Linked DNA regions of Homo sapiens: all the other regions are linked to region 1. The links are contacts of gene promoters, found by promoter capture Hi-C in blood cells and fetal thymus (Javierre and others, 2016). All regions are on one chromosome and are shown on one strand. The core of a region is centred on a gene start or on the middle of the fragment in contact, and the rest is flanking DNA. Distances in the headings are between cores, read along the strand shown.

Region 1 (5,110 bases), core at 850-3,349:
CACATACACACAGAGACAAAAACAGGCACACAGCTACAGACCCCACACTCTCACAGATGATGACATAGACACAGACATCTATAGTCACCCAGGGTCAGACATGCAGGTCAAACACAATAATATGGAAGCCATAATCATATACACACCCCTACAAACATAATTTCCTGGCACCAGCACGGAGACACATCCACAGCTTTAGTCACACACAAATAATCCCTCTAAATAGCCAGGGTTTCAGACACCAAGTCAAATACATAACCCAAATCACACATGCAAGGCTAGAAATACACACAATCACTCGTTATCACACACACTGCTAGATACAGTCATTTATATTAATACAACCTCAGTCACACACTCAGACATGGTTCTGCATACGCAACCACTGTCATACACAATACTGTCACACAACCCCAGTCACACAGATACAATGTGACTTCAGACACAATGGCAGTCACACAGGCAGAGTTGCACAGACAGGTGTGTGTCACTCACGTATATAAAATCAGGTAGAGACACAACTATAAACATTGTCAGTCACTGGGAGGGTCACACATGCACATGGAGCCATAGACAACTCCACTCACACACAGTCACAACTCCACCCACGTCCTGTCAGTCACACGCATGCCCACCCCCAGACTCAACACATACTGTCACATACCCAGTTATAGTTACCGAGGCATACAAACACAGGGTCACAAAAGACACAATCACAGACAACCACAGTCACAACCATGCACACCTCCAAACACAGACAGACTAAAAAGTACAGGATTCTGCACAGTGAGCAGCTGTCACACACACATACACAGTCACACAGATACTAGGGTCACAGACACAATCATAGACACCACCACAAGCACACACACACGACACAGGATTCCTCAGTCACCAGCTGCAGCGTACGCGTGCACACACACACACACATACACAGCCACAGTCACACAAACACAGGGCACACTCCTAGCCACCTCCCCATCGCTTGCTTCCCCCCTTCCCCCCAGGTACCACACACAAAGCCGCCGTCACCGTCACCGCAGACACTGCAGACAGACAGGGCTGCACCCGGTCCCTGGGGAGCCGCCCCCAGCCCAGCCTGTATCCTGGAGCCTGAGGGCCAGGTCCAGGAGGGGGAAGCGGTGCATTGTCTGCGGGTGGGGCCACTCTTGGACAGCTGGGCAGCCCTGGGGACAAAGGGGGTGGCCTAGGGATCCTGTGCCCTGGGACCCATGACCAAGCCAGGGGGTGGAGGGATTGGGGGTTGCCTGAAATTGTCCTTATTTTATTCAGGCTGGGGTGGGGTGGAGTCCCAGGCACAGGGACCTTGTTTTGAGAAGTGGCTGTGCCTGGGACTCCGCCCAAGGATTGGGGGGATGCTGTGCCCAGGGTGCCTCTGAGACCTGGGGGCAGGCTGTGCTTGGAGTCCCCCTAGGCCTTGGCGTGGTGGGAACGCTGTACCCAGTGACCCCATCCTCGAGACCGTACCTAGGCAGTTGTTGTGCTGAGACCCCCTTAGGCAGGGAGAGGTAGGGATTGTGTCTGGAATCGCGTCCTGGAGGCCTTGGTTTGATACGGGGGCTGTGTCCCCGACCCCATCTCCATCCCCATCTAGTTCTAGGAGTTGTACCTAGAATCTCTGTACCCCTGTCCTTGGTTTTGTGGGGGGTCTGTGTCCAGGATCCCTATTTCCAGGGCCTTGGCAAGAGATGGCCCAGGGGTCTGTGCCCAAGACCCCGGTCTCCTGGGCTTTGGCTTGTTGGGCCTGTTCCTGGACCCCCACCCGGGACCACCCTCTCCAGCCTTGGCACCCTCTCTCCATCCGGGCGCCGCGGCCGCCTCCCACCCTCCGCCACATCAGCAGCGGCGCCGCCCCCGACCCGAGCCCCCCTCTCCCGCCCTTCTCACGCTGGCCGCCGCGCTGCGGGACATCCAGGGCCCGGGCGCCCCCGCCTCCCGCGGCCCTGGCTGGGCCTGGCTCCCCGACTGCTGCTGCTGCGGTGGTGGCGGCGGCAGCTCGGTCTGACGCCGGCCAGGGCCCGGGGCCGGGGGATGGTGCGGGATGCACGCGCGCGAGCCTCCTCGGCTCCCGGGAGGATTCCGTTCCGGGGGCGGGGGAGCGTCCCTCGGCCTCGGCTCCCCGCCCCGACCCCGCCCATTGGCCCGCCGCCTGCCGTATATGCAGAAAGGTCCCGCCCCGCCCCGCCCCTTGGCCTGAAGACCCCGCCCACACGCAGACACCATCCCGCCTTCCCCGGCGCGGCCACCGCCCCGCCACGCCCATTGGCCAGTCCCGAGCTGAGCATGCCTATGAACATCGCCGAGTCCTTTCCCCCGGTCCGTCCTGGCCTGGGCTCCCTTTCCCTCCGTGACACCTGACCTCAGATCCCCTCCAGCTCCGCGTCCGAAAGAGTTGCTTCTAGAGGCGCCTTGCCGCCCCACACCCCCAAATCTTCCCGCTAACCCCATGGTTCCCCAGCCCGGCGGGGGCGGGCAGGAGCGGTGACGAGGCACTTTTTGCAAGGAAGGGGAGGGGGTGTGAACAGACCAAGGCGTCCTGATGCGCGATCGGTTCGGCTTTGGGAACGGGGGCGCCGGGGTGGGACCAGGGCGCGGTTCTGGCCGCTACGGCGCCCCCGCCGCCCCCTACGCCAATCCTGTGGGTTTGGCAAAGCAGCTGGCAGGGACATTAGAGCCCATTAGTAAAGGCGAGGTTGCCAGGAGTGAGGGGAGGGAGCCCGCAGCCAAGAGGCACTGTGTGTGTGGGAGGCCTCAGCTGCCACAGCCCTTAGAGCAGGTGGTCAGCACGTGGGGGGGGGTGGGGAAGGCGAGAAGGAGGTTCCCGGCAACAGATGGCACAGGCAGGGCTGAGGCTTTCAGACAAGGGGGTGCAGGGGGGCTGGCCATCTGCACCTGGAGGCCGCTGGCGAGCTCCTCCCCCTCTCCCCCCAACCCTAGCGCAGAGAAAAGAGCTGGGGGAAGGGGAGGGCTGCTTTTATTCCGATTGAAGATTCAGCTCCCCCCCACCCCGCACCCCTACCTCTCCAACACACTGAGAGGCTGGAACCCGGGAGAAGGCAGCTGTTGGAGGAGCGAGGGAGGCAGAGGTGAGGACTGCCTCCAGGACCATCTCGCCTTCCACGGGAGGCTTGAGGCAGAGGTGAGGGCTCCCCCTGATGAGTCTGATCTGCATAACGACATGCAGCGGCCCAAGGCTCCCTCAAATGTTGGCAAAGATAAGTTAACCGCTTCCCTGGCTTAGTTTTCGGATACCCACTTTCGAGTGGGGAGGTGCAGGATCTAGGGCACGAAGTTGGGAGTTCCCCAGCCCCAGGGATCCTGAGCTCCTGGGCCAAGGAGGAGAGCCAGGCAAGACTGGGAAGCCCAAGGGGGCTCCTCTGACCCAGGGCAGACGGGGAAGGGATAAGAGGCACTACAGCAGGGTACGGCCTGCTCTGGGGACTGAATCCCCCATGGAGGCTGTCATGAGGGATCCACCCAGGAGTCCCCTTTGGTGGGGAGGCTGCCGGCAGTGGCTGCGTCTGGCTGGCGACTGGCCCAGTAGCGGTGGTAGGTGTCCTGGAAGAGGTCCCTGCAGGCGATGTGGGCTCGGAGGTGGGCACAGGCCAGGAAAGCCCCTGCCAGCTTGCGGTGCAGGGCATAGGTCTCCTCGGGTGGGGGACACAGCCGGTGCCGCAGCAGCACCGGGATGAGGTCCTGTATGCGGCGGGCCGTTTCCCCCGACCCAAAGTCATAAGGGCCCTGGGTGGCGAAAGGCTCCCCCAGGATCATCACTGCCTCCACGTGGGCGTCGGAGAATGCCTGGGAGTGGGGGTGGGGGGAGAGCAAAGGCAGCCAGTGTGGACATAGAGCCCTCTGCATAACCCAGAAACAACGTGTAGCCTCCACTCCCTCCAGTCTCCACCATCAACACAAGCCCCGACTCCCCCAAGAGTGAGCAGCTTCCACTCCTTCCAGAGCCTGGACTAGACAAGCAGCTGCCTATTCCCCGAGTAAGCACCCCTTACTTCCCTGCAGAGCCTCCAACAGACAAGTAGCCCTCTACTCTCTCTACAACAGAGAAGCGGCCTTCGCCCCTCCTGAACAGATCCACGGTGCCCATGTTCCCAGGGTTCCTGAGAAGTCAGGCAGCCACCTCCCCCCACTCCTCCCCAAAGCCCCCAGCATGGATAAGCATCCCTCCTAGAGTCACCCACTCCCCAGGTATAGACACACAGCCTCCATTCTCCCTAGTGGAGACAAGCCCCTCCTAGAGTCCCCCAGTCCCCGGGTATCGACATGCCCCATCACCTACTCGAGTTCCTCAGTGGAGATAAGCAGCCCCCCACTGCACCCCACCAACAGACACCAGCCCCTTTCTCCCCCAGTGTCTCCCCACCTTGGTTTCAAAGCCTGTGAGGAATTTGAGGTCCCTGGACTTCTGCAGGACACAGTCTCTGTCTCCATCAGCTGCAGCCTTCACCACCTGGGGAGACGGGTGGGAGTTAGAGGGACAAAGGCCGGGGCTCAAGGGGGCTCTGGAGAAGAGGAGCTGGAAGCCTGGGCCTCCCATGTACCCACCTCCATTCTCATCTGCCTGGGCCCTCCCTCACCTGGAAGCTTCCTGCTCCCAACTTTGCCTGTCTGTGACTCCCTTAAAGACTCTTCCAGAGCCTGGGAGTGGAGGTGGTTAGGGATCCTGCCCACCTAGAGGGCAATGTGGGGCCTGCCCGGGAACTGCCACAGTGAAACAGTGCAAGAAACAAGTGTCAGGGCTGCTGGTGAGTCCAAACACTCAACTGGACGGGTATGAGCGTGACCCAGAACTGCATCCAAAGTTGCCAGGGGCCATCTCTCTGTCTCCCACACTGGACTTTGAGCCCCGTGAGAGCAAGGATCCCAGTTGGGTTTAGTCGCACGGGGCACAGGGTCTGGTGCTGAGGAGGCCCTGGGTGAACCTTGCTTTAGCAAATGAGCGTGTGGAGCAGAGCAGCTCTCCAGCCATGAGCTCACACACACAGGGCAGGAGTTGTGGGCATGGAGAGATGCCCAGCTGGGGCCAGCTGGCTAGGGTTCCGTCCCAGCTCTGCCACCTGCCGGCCTGTTGGGC
Region 2 (5,110 bases), core at 1,173-3,672, 460 kb after region 1:
CTCAGCTCACTGCAACCTCCACCTCCCAGGTTCAAGTGATTCTCCTCCCTCAGCCTACAGGCACGCGCCACCACACCCAGCTAATTTTTGTATTTTTAGTAGAGACAGGGTTTCACCATGTTGGCCAGGATGGTCTGGATCTCTTGACCTCATGATCCACCCACCTCAGCCTCGCTAAGTGCTGGGATTACAGGCTTGAATGAGCCACTGCGCCTGCACTACATTTTCTTTATCCACTCGAGGGTTAATGGGCATTTAGGTTTGTTCCATATTTTTGCAACTGCAAATTGTGCTGCTATAAACCTGTGCATGCAACTGTCTTTTTCATACAAAGACTTATTTTCCTTTGGGTGGATACCCAGTAGTGGGATTGCTAGATCAAATGATAGTTCTACTTTTAGTTCTTTAAGGAATCTCCACAGTGTTTTCCATAGTGATTGTACTAGTTTACATTCCCGCCAGCCGTGTAAAAGTTCCCTTTTCACCACATCCATGGCCAACATCTATATGTTTTGATTTTTTAATTATGATCATTCTTGCAGGAGTAAAGTGGTATCTCATTGTGTTTTTCATTTGCATTTCCCTGATAATTTGTGATGGTGAGCATTTTTTTCATAGGTTTGCTGGCCATTTGTATATCTTCTTTTGAGAATCGTCTATTCATGTCCTTCACTTTTTACTTTTATTTGAAAAAACTGTTTTATTTGTGGATGATATCAAACATACACAAGAGTAGATATAAGACTACATGCAGCCGGGCGCAGTGGCTCACACCTATAATCCTAGCACTTTGGGAGACCAAAGTAGGCAGATCACTTGAGGTCAGGATTTCGAGACCAGCCTGGCCAACATGATGAAACTCCGTCTCTACTAAAAATACACAAATAATTTGGGTGCAGTGGCACGTGCCTGTAATCCCAGCTACTCGAGAGGCTGAGGCATGAGAATCGCTTGACCCCGGGAGTCAGAGGTTGCAGTGAACCGAGAACGCGCCACTGCACTCCAGCCTGGGTGATACAGTGAGGCTCAGTCTCAAAACAAAACAAAGAAAAGTATATCCATCACCCAGCTTCAACAATGATCAACTCATGGCCAATCTTGTTTCATCTGTGCTCCCAACAACCTCCTTCCCCAACTCCCCAAAAATTGGGATTATTTTGAAGCAAAGCCCAGACCTCGCATAAATTCACCTATAAATGTTTTCACCACATATCTCTAAAATTATCCCATTTTACCACTGGGGAAACTGAGGCATGAAGAAATCACATAACTTAATCAAGGTCACTTTTCTGATAGGAGTTCAGAGCCAGGATCAAAGCCCAGCTCTCTGGTTCTAGAGCCCTTGCCTTTGACTGTCTTGATGCCTCTGGAATCTTAGATGAGAGTCTTTTTTTTTTTTTTTTTTTTGGAAAGACAGGGTCTCACTGTATTGCATAATCTTGGCTCACTGCAACCTCCACCTCCCAGTTTCAAGCGATTCTCCTGCCTCAGCCTCCTGAGCAGCTCAGATTACAGGCACCAGACACCACACCTGGCTAATTGTTTGTGTTTTTAGTAGAGATGGGGTTTTGCCATGCTGGCCAGGCTGGTCTCAAACTCCTGACCTCAAGTGAGCCACCCGCCTCGGCCTCCCAAAGTGCTGGGATTACAAGCATGAGCCACCATGCCTGGATGCCTATATCTATTATGGACATGTCTCAGTAAGCTGTGTGCTTAAAAGCTTTGCATTCTACTGTATGTAGGTGATACCTAAAAATGAAGGCAAAGGAGAACAGATTAAGTGTCATATATTCATAACACGAATTAGTATAAAGCAAGGAAAATGAATGAACAATATACAATAAACAGGATAAATCTAAGAAACATAATTTTGAGCAAAGGAGCCAGACGTAAAACAATACGTATTACTTGTTCCTTTTGTGCAAAGTGCCCCAAAACAGGCATTTAATTATGCATACTTAGGAAGTGAAATGCTAAACCAATCATGAAATGCTAAAATGCTATAAAAGTGTAAAAAAAATCCTTTCCATTGGAAGAAGGGAGGGGATAGTCATGGGAGAAACAGTAGCAGGCATCTGGCATGTAGGCAACATTCTGTCTCTTAACCTGGGTGTACACTTGGTATCAATTCATTGAGCTATATTCATTTGTTGTATGCCCTTTTTGTATTGACATTTAAAAATATATAATTCCCCGGCCGGGCACGGTGGCTCATGCCTGTAATCCCAGCACTTTGGGAGGCCAAGGAGGGTGAATCACGAGGTCAGGAGTTCAAGACCAGCCTAGCCAACAAGGTGAAACCCTGTCTCTACTGAAAATACAAAAATTAGCTGGGCATGATGGCTTATGCCTGTAATCCCAGCTACTCGGGAGGCTGAGGCAGGAGAATTGCTTGGACCAGGACCCGGGAGGCGGAGGTTGCAGTGAGCCAAGATCGCACCACTTTACTCTAGCCTGGGCTACAGAGTGAGACTCCATCTCAAAAAAAAAAAAAAAAAAAAAAAAAAAAAAAAAAAAAATATATATATATATATATATATATATATATATACACACACACACACACACATATATACATATGTATATATAAAATTTCCCATCACATCTGAATCATGAAATACTAAGAGATACATTTAATAAAATATGTGCAAAACCAGTACACTGAAAACCACAAAACATTAAAGAAGGAAACAGAATAAGACTTGAGTAAGGGGCGAGATCCACCATGTTCAAGAATCAGATTACTCAATATTAAGATATTAGTGCTCCAGCCCAGGCGCAGTGGCTCACACCTGTAATCCCAGCACTTTGGGAGCCCGAGGCGGGTGGATCACTTGAGGTCAGAAGTTCGAGACCAGCCTGGGCAACATGGTGAAACCGATCTCTACTAAAAATACAAAAAAATTAGCTGGGCATGGTGGCACACACCTATAATCCCTAGGGAGACTGAGGTAGGAGAACAGCTTGAACCCGGGAAATGAAGGTTGCATTGAGCAGAGATAGCGCCACTGCACTCCAGCCTGGGCAAAGAGTGAAACTCCATCTCAAAAAATAATAATAGTAATAAAAGATAATAGTGTTCATCTGTAGAGTAAATGAATCCCAGACAAAATTGAAATACCAGCAAGCTTTATTTATTTATTTATTTATTTATAGAAATTGTCAAGCTGAGGCTACAATTTATATGGCAATGTAAAGGATCAACAAGAGCCAAACATCTTGAAAAAGAAAAACCAGACTGGGCGCAGTGGTTCACACCTGTAATCCCAGCACTTTGGGAGGCTGAGGCAGGCAGATCACCTGAGGTCAGGAGTTCAAGACCAGCCTGGCCAACATGGTAAACCCCATCTCTACTACAAATACAAAAATGAGCCAAGTGTGGTGGCGCACGCCTGTAGTCCCAGCTACTCAGGAGGCTGAGGCAGGAGAATCACATGAACCCAGGAGGCAGAGGTTGCGGGGAGCCGAGATGGTACCACTGCACTCCAGCCTGGGAGACAGAGCAAGACCCTGTCTCAAAAAAAAAGAAAAAAAAAGAGAAAAACCAGGCTGGCACAGTGGCTCATGCCTATAATCCCAGCACTTTGGGAGGCCAAGGCGGGCGGATCACCTGAGGTCAGAAGTTCGAGACTAGCCTGACCAAAATGGTGAAATTCCGTCTCTACTAAAAATACAAAAAATTAGCCGAGTGTGGGGGCTTGTGCCTGTAATCCCAGCTACTTGGGAGGCTGAGACACAAGAATCACTTGAACCCGGGAAGCAGAGGTTGCAGTGAGCTGAGATTGCACCACTGCATTCCAGCCTGGGTGGCAGAGTGAGACTCCCACTCAAAAAAAAAAAAAAAAAAAAAAAAAAAAGAGGCCGGGCACAGTGGTTTATGGTTTATGCCTGTAATCCCAGCACTTTGGGAGGCCGAGGTGGGTGGATCACGAGGTCAGAAGATGGAGATCATCCTGGTTAACACAGTGAAACCCCGTCTCTACTAAAAATACAAAAAAATTAGCCAGGCGTGGTGGTGGGCGCCTGTAGTCCCAGCTACTTGGGAGGCTGAGGCTGGAGAATGGCGTGAACCCAGGAGGTGGAGCTTGCAGTGAGCCAAGATCGCGCCACTGCACTCCAGCAGCCTGGACAGAGTGAAACTTCGTCTCAAAAAAAAAAAAAAAAAGAAAAAGAAAAGCCAAATGGAAGGATTTATATTAATATCAAAATTTATAATAAAACTACAGTAATAGGCTGGGCACTGTGGCTCATGCCTGTAATCCCACCACTTTGGGAGGCCAATGCAAGAGCCCAGAAGTTCACTTGAGCTTAGAAGTTCAAGACCAGCCTGGGCAATATAGTGAGAACCCATCTCTACAAAAACTTAAAAAACTAGCCAGGCATGATGGCATGTGCCTGTGGTCCTAGCTATTCAGGAGGCTGAGGTGGGAGGACCGCTTGAGCCCAGGAGGTCTAGGCTGCAGTGAGTCATGATGGCACTGCTCCACTCCAGCCTGGGTGACAGGGCAAGACTCTGTCTCAAAAAAACAAAAAACCACACACACACACTACAGTAATAAAGGCAAGGTGTACTGGGATTCCGATAGAAAGAGATGAATGGAATAAACTAGGAAGTCCATAAATATGTGGTCAATAGAATTTTTTTTTCTTAGAGTTGGGGGTCTCACTGTGTTTAACAGGCTGGTCTCAAACTCTTGGACTCAAGCGATCCTCCTGCCTCAGCCTCCCTCACCTGCTTTCAATTGATTACTGACAAAGATGCTAAGATAATTCAGTGGAGAAAAGACAGTATTTTCTTTTTCTTTTTTTTTCTTTTTTTTTTTTTTTTTTTTTTTTGAGGAGTCTTGCTCTGTAGCCCAGGCTGGAGTGCAGTGGCTCAATCTTGGCTTACCGCAAACTCTGCCTCCCGGGTCCCAGTTCAAGCAATTCTCCTGCCTCACCCTCCCGAGTAGCTGGGACTACAGGCATGCATCACCATGCCCAGCTGATTTTTGTATGTTTAGTAGAGACGGGGTTTCGCCATGTTGGCCAGGCTGGTCTCGAACTCCTGACCTTGTGATTCACCCACCTTGGCCTCCCAAAGTGCTGGGATTACAGGTGTGAGCCACCA
Region 3 (5,110 bases), core at 905-3,404, 300 kb after region 1:
CATGTTGCTATAAAAGACATTATTTTATTCCTTTTTATGGCTAAATAGTATTCAATGGTGTATATATACCACATTTTATTTAACCATTCATCTGTTGATTCCCTATTTTTGCTATTGTAAATAGCATTTGGACCACATTTCAAGTACTTAATTAGTGGCCACATGCAGCAAGTGACTATCACATTGGACAATGTAGCCCCAACCCACTGTATGACCTTGGGTAAGACTTGCAAACTGTCATTGCTTCAATATCTCCATCTATAAAATGGGGATGGCAACAATACCTCACTAAGAGTGTAAAGACTGAGTTACTGTGTGTAAAGCACTTCACGCCTCCCCATCGGTGCTTCACCCTGGGGCTGCAATGAGCACCCAATCTTAGTGTCAGATGACACAGCACAGCAAGACCGAGGCCCTTGGTTCAGGAAAGTCCATGCTGCCACCTCTTCAGGGTCAGGAAAGTACAGTTTCCACCTCTTACAAATAGGACTGTTTGTCTGCTCCTCCTGGGTCAAAGTAACTTCGGGTTCAGGTCCTGGATCCAGCAAAGGGTTTGCTTAACATTGCAAGAAAGATGTTGCCTCATGGTCAAAAGTCAGGCGTAGGATGAGACAGGCAGACACGCACACATTCACACCCACGTTTTGCAAAGATGGACTGACCCTGTCAGAGGATGTGTGGGTGAAGGTGCACAGTGAGGATAGAGACATATGGGAGTCCAGTAGACATCAATCAAACTGGACTCAGTTTGCACACACCTGGAGCTCAAGAGTCTCCAGGGGGAAAACAGAGACACAAAGTCAGACAGAGAGAGAGCCAGAGAAATTTCCTGCACCGTGAAGATAGTCAGAGGCAGGGAAGAAACTCCTTAGCACTAGTTAGAGTGATCAGAAACCAAGAGGACCTGATCGCTGTACCTGCCAGGTCTCAGTTTCTGTCTCCTTCCAACTGACCACCTCTTCCTCTGAGACTCACCAGTTCTGCATCTCTTGCTCCTCCTTCTGTTTCTCCGACCACTTCCACCTGTGGCTGTCACAGAAGGGCGGATGAAGGAGGGGACACTGGAGATAGACTCAGCATCTGCAGGCTTCCAAAGAGAGGGGCTAGGAGATCCACCAACACACCAGCACAAATACACCAGCACACACAGATACACACAATTGGTTCATGTATTGCTAGGTTACAGTTTGCTATGCTACAAAGGCAGTAGGCCAAATTTGATTGAATTGAATAATTCCTTATTTTCATCAGCTTCTCCTTTTTTTTTTTTTTTTTTTTTTTTTGAGATGGAGTATTGCTGTGTCACCCAGGCTGGAGTGCAGTGGTGTAATCTTGGCTCACTGCAGCCTCCACCTCCCAGGTTCAAGTGATTCTCTTGCCTCAGCCTCCCGAGTAGCTGGGATTAAAAGTACCCACCATCACGCCCGGTTAATTTTTGTGTTTTTAGTACAGATGGGGTTTTGCCATGTGGGCCAGGATGGTCTCGAACTCTTGACCTCAATTGATCTGCCCCCCTCAGCTTCCCAACGTGCTGGGATTACAGGTGTGAGCCACCGCACCCAGCCAGCCTCTCAGTTTTGAACATGCACTACCACCACCTCCACAACACACAAATGTAAATGCACTTTCGTATATAAAACTGTATAAATACAAGGAAGCTCATACACATGCAAGGATACACACATAAGCACCCCCAGATTCAACCACAGAAATATACGCCAGTACATTTGCATAAATTCAAACACCCCTTTACATGTAAAAATCATATAAGCACATACAGGGATGCAAGCAGGCATGGACAAATGCATGCAAGCACAGACAAACAGACAAAGCTAAGTAAAAAAGTGCAAGCTCACCTATGCTTACAAAAATAGACATACATATACCCACAAACCCACACACCCACACATTCACTTGCTCACCTGGACTTTGATATCTCTACCACTGTATCCCTGCCAATATCTACAGAGTGGGTAAAGGGATAGGCATCAGGTCACTGGGTTGCCCAAGCAGGAAGTCTGGGTTCCCTAACAACTTTTTCTAAGCTAATGCTCCTGGATGATGATGAAAAAGGAGGTGGGGAATGGATGAAATTTTATAACAGGGTGCAGAGGCAGGGTCAGGATAAAAGGCCCAGTTGGAGGCTGCAGCAGGGTGCAGGGCAGTCAGACCAGGACCATGGAACTCAGCGTCCTCCTCTTCCTTGCACTCCTCACAGGACTCTTGCTACTCCTGGTTCAGCGCCACCCTAACACCCATGACCGCCTCCCACCAGGGCCCCGCCCTCTGCCCCTTTTGGGAAACCTTCTGCAGATGGATAGAAGAGGCCTACTCAAATCCTTTCTGAGGGTAAGACACAGACGAATGGGGTCTGAGGGTGAGCTGCTTCTTGCCTTGGTACTTGGGGAAGCTTCACCAAACAGAATGAGGCAGACTTCCAGAGTCAGGGGTGGCACGGGCATGGTTGGTGAGTACGGAGCATGGTGAAGCATGATGGGTGGTATTATTAGGAGAAAAGCATCAAATTAAATTTAGCAGAGTTTATTTGAGCAAAGAAGTGACTCATGAGTTGGACAGCTCCCTAAACCAGGAAAGACACCACACGGCAGTATGGTCAAGTGGTATTTACAGGCAGAAAAAGGAGGTGACATACAGAAACAGCCTGATTGGCCACAGATCACAGCTTGCCTTACTTGGTCACAATCTGAGCAGTTTGCAGCCTGTGTGGACTGAAAGCCCAGCTGCTCTGATTAGCCAACACTTGGCTACTTGTCACAAGAATATATTCATTTGGGCCAGGTGCAGTGGCTCATGCCTGTAATCCCAGTGCTTTTGGAGGCCGAGGTGGTGGATCACCTGAGGTCAGGAGTTCGAGACCAGCCTGGCCAACATGGTGAAACCTTGTCTCTACTAAAAATACAAATATTAGCTGGGCATAGTGATGCGTGCCTGTAATCTCAGCTACCCAGGAGGCTGAGGAAGGAGAATCACTTGAATCCAGGAGGCAGAGGTTGCAGTGAGCCAAAATCTTACCACTGCACTCCATCCTGGGTGACAGAGTGAGACTCCTTCTCAAAAAAAAAAAAAAAAAAAAGAATATACTCCCAAGTTAGGTTGCAGTTCACTCTACAGAGAGAGCTTTAGGTCAAATTTAATTTAATTAAACAATTCTCCCCTTTTGGTCAGCCTCAAAATTTTGAGATTGACCAAAACCTTGGGCATCAACATTACTTCTGTCACCATCATAATGGACTTGTCTGCTCTCAGTATGGAATTCACAATGGACAATGTCAACGTAGTTGAGTGATTCTTTACCTTTTCTTCATGTTTTTGTTGTTCCCACTGTAATGAGCCCACTGGATGTACAAAGAATGGCTGCATATGAGCATTTAAGACTCTTTTTTTTTCTGAGACAGGGCCTCACTCTGTCAGCCAGGCTGAAGTGCTGTGGCATGATCACGTCTCACTGCAGCCTTGACCTCCCAAGGCTCAAGTGATCCTCCTGCCTCAGCCCCCCAAGTAGCTGGAACTACAGGTGCATGCCACCACGCCCAGCTAATTTTTGTATTTTTTGTAGAGACAGGGTTTTGCCATGTTGCCCAGACTGGTCTTAAACTCCTGGGCTCAAGCAATCCACCTGCCTCGGCCTCCCAAAGTGCTAGGATTACATGTGTGAGCCACCGCACCCGGCCAAGACTCTTGAGAAAATACAACACATCAGGGAGACTGTTATGATGGCTCTCAGGAGGGTAATACGAAGAAAATGAAGTCACTGGGCCTGTAATAAACTTTGAGGAATGTGGACTTGGGGGTATAGATAAGGTCCACTGTCCACAGAGAGAAGAAAGGCTGTTAATAGTCTCTTTTAACTTGAGTGTGTCCATGAACCAAACTGATCAAAATCGAATAATTCGAAGTTCAGACAATAAAGATAGTTCAATAGTATTAGAGTCCAATTGGTCATAGATTTTGTTCAGGGCATGATGGTAATTAAGGACCAGAGCTTGCTATAAAATAACTTGATTTATAGAGACATTCATTTGTAGTTGGCCTGGTAACATATAGTATCCTGGAGACCCACTAGAAGAAACATTAAGAGTAGAAAAGTTTGGGATAGCCAGGCTTGCTGTGTTAGTCCATTCTCACACTGTTATAAAGACATACCTGAGACTGGGTAATTTATAAACAAAAGGGATGTAACTGACTCACAGTTCCACATGGCTGGGGAGGCCCCAGGAAAATACAATTCATGGCAAAAGGTGAATGAGAAGCAGGAAACTTACAATCATGATGGAAGGTGAAGGAGAAGCAAGTACCTTCTTCACAAGGTGGCAGGAAAAAGAGAGAGAGCCAAGGGGGAAGAGCCTCTTATAAAACCATCAGATCTTGTGAGAACTCACTCACTATCACAAGAACAGCATGGGGGAAACCGCCCCCAGGATCCAGTTACCTCCTACTAGGTCCTTCCCTCCACACCTGGGGATTACAATTCAAGATGAGATTTGGGTGAGGACACAGAGCCAAACCATATCACTTACCATCACCATTCAGGATGCTTGCAAACCAACTGCTAGCTGCACCTGTAAACACATATCTGTTTCTTTCCCCTGAGAAATGTCCTTAGTGTATTTGTGGCAGTGTCTAGAGAAACAGCAGTGTCAGCCGCATTTTAAATTAAGTTATCTGCACTAGTGAATTCACTGGAAAGATAAGAGCAATATTTGGTTTTCTTCAGCACCATACACAAGCCTCCAAGATGGGCATAGAGGAGATCTAAAATTGCGTGATGTTCCATTAAGCGTTTTTGTTGCCACAAATGTTCTCATCTCAGTTTGGAGAGTGGCTTCTACCCATCTGAACTCCTTGGAGGTTCAATTAGCTGCAAAATTCAAGATGTCCCTTAATGTATAACTTAGCCTCAGATTCCATACAACTGTCACCCAAATACCACCAAGAATGAGCACCCAGGAACCCAACTGGAACCTTTTCTGAACAGAAACCAACTTATCTTCGTCGATTTTGAGGTTGATAGTAATTTCAGTTATTGACTGTTTTGGCTTTTAACTATGGGAGGTATTAGGAAACTCTCAGGGAAACAATTTGGAAAGCA

Evidence for each region. Contacts are between HindIII fragments. The CHiCAGO score rates a contact against its expected background, and 5 or more counts as called.
Region 2: a fragment that was not itself captured here is called in contact with the fragment with the promoter of NUMBL in region 1 in 4 of 17 cell types (naive CD4 T cells, non-activated CD4 T cells, naive CD8 T cells and 1 more); the score reaches 6.1 in naive CD4 T cells.
Region 3: the fragment with the promoter of CYP2B6 here is called in contact with the fragment with the promoter of NUMBL in region 1 in 5 of 17 cell types (neutrophils, naive CD8 T cells, non-activated CD4 T cells and 2 more); the score reaches 9.9 in neutrophils.

Annotation. Positions count from the first base shown.
Region 1 is chr19:40,688,552-40,693,661 of GRCh38, forward strand. NUMBL (NUMB like endocytic adaptor protein) reads right to left here and starts at 2,100. Exons shown (of 10, transcript NM_004756.5): 1 at 1,909-2,100. The coding sequence starts at 1,932. COQ8B (coenzyme Q8B) reads right to left here. Exons shown (of 15, transcript NM_024876.4): 14 at 4,400-4,486; 15 at 2,979-3,822. The coding sequence ends at 3,484. RefSeq lists enhancers at 391-1,330, 1,004-1,053, 2,269-3,206 and silencers at 1,893-2,232, 2,553-2,792. The HindIII fragment of the contact is 12,323 bases long and covers 1-4,618 here.
Region 2 is chr19:41,145,571-41,150,680 of GRCh38, forward strand. All of the region lies in intron 2 of LOC124904790, which reads right to left. Among named protein-coding and RNA genes, the nearest start is that of CYP2F1, 34 kb to the left of the region's middle. The HindIII fragment of the contact is 1,408 bases long and covers 1,719-3,126 here.
Region 3 is chr19:40,989,128-40,994,237 of GRCh38, forward strand. It overlaps CYP2B6 (cytochrome P450 family 2 subfamily B member 6), which reads left to right and starts at 2,155. Exons shown (of 9, transcript NM_000767.5): 1 at 2,155-2,349. The coding sequence starts at 2,179. RefSeq lists promoters at 1-2,194, 495-2,160, enhancers at 419-466, 449-468 and cis regulatory regions at 510-522, 1,897-1,920. The HindIII fragment of the contact is 6,148 bases long and covers 1-2,408 here.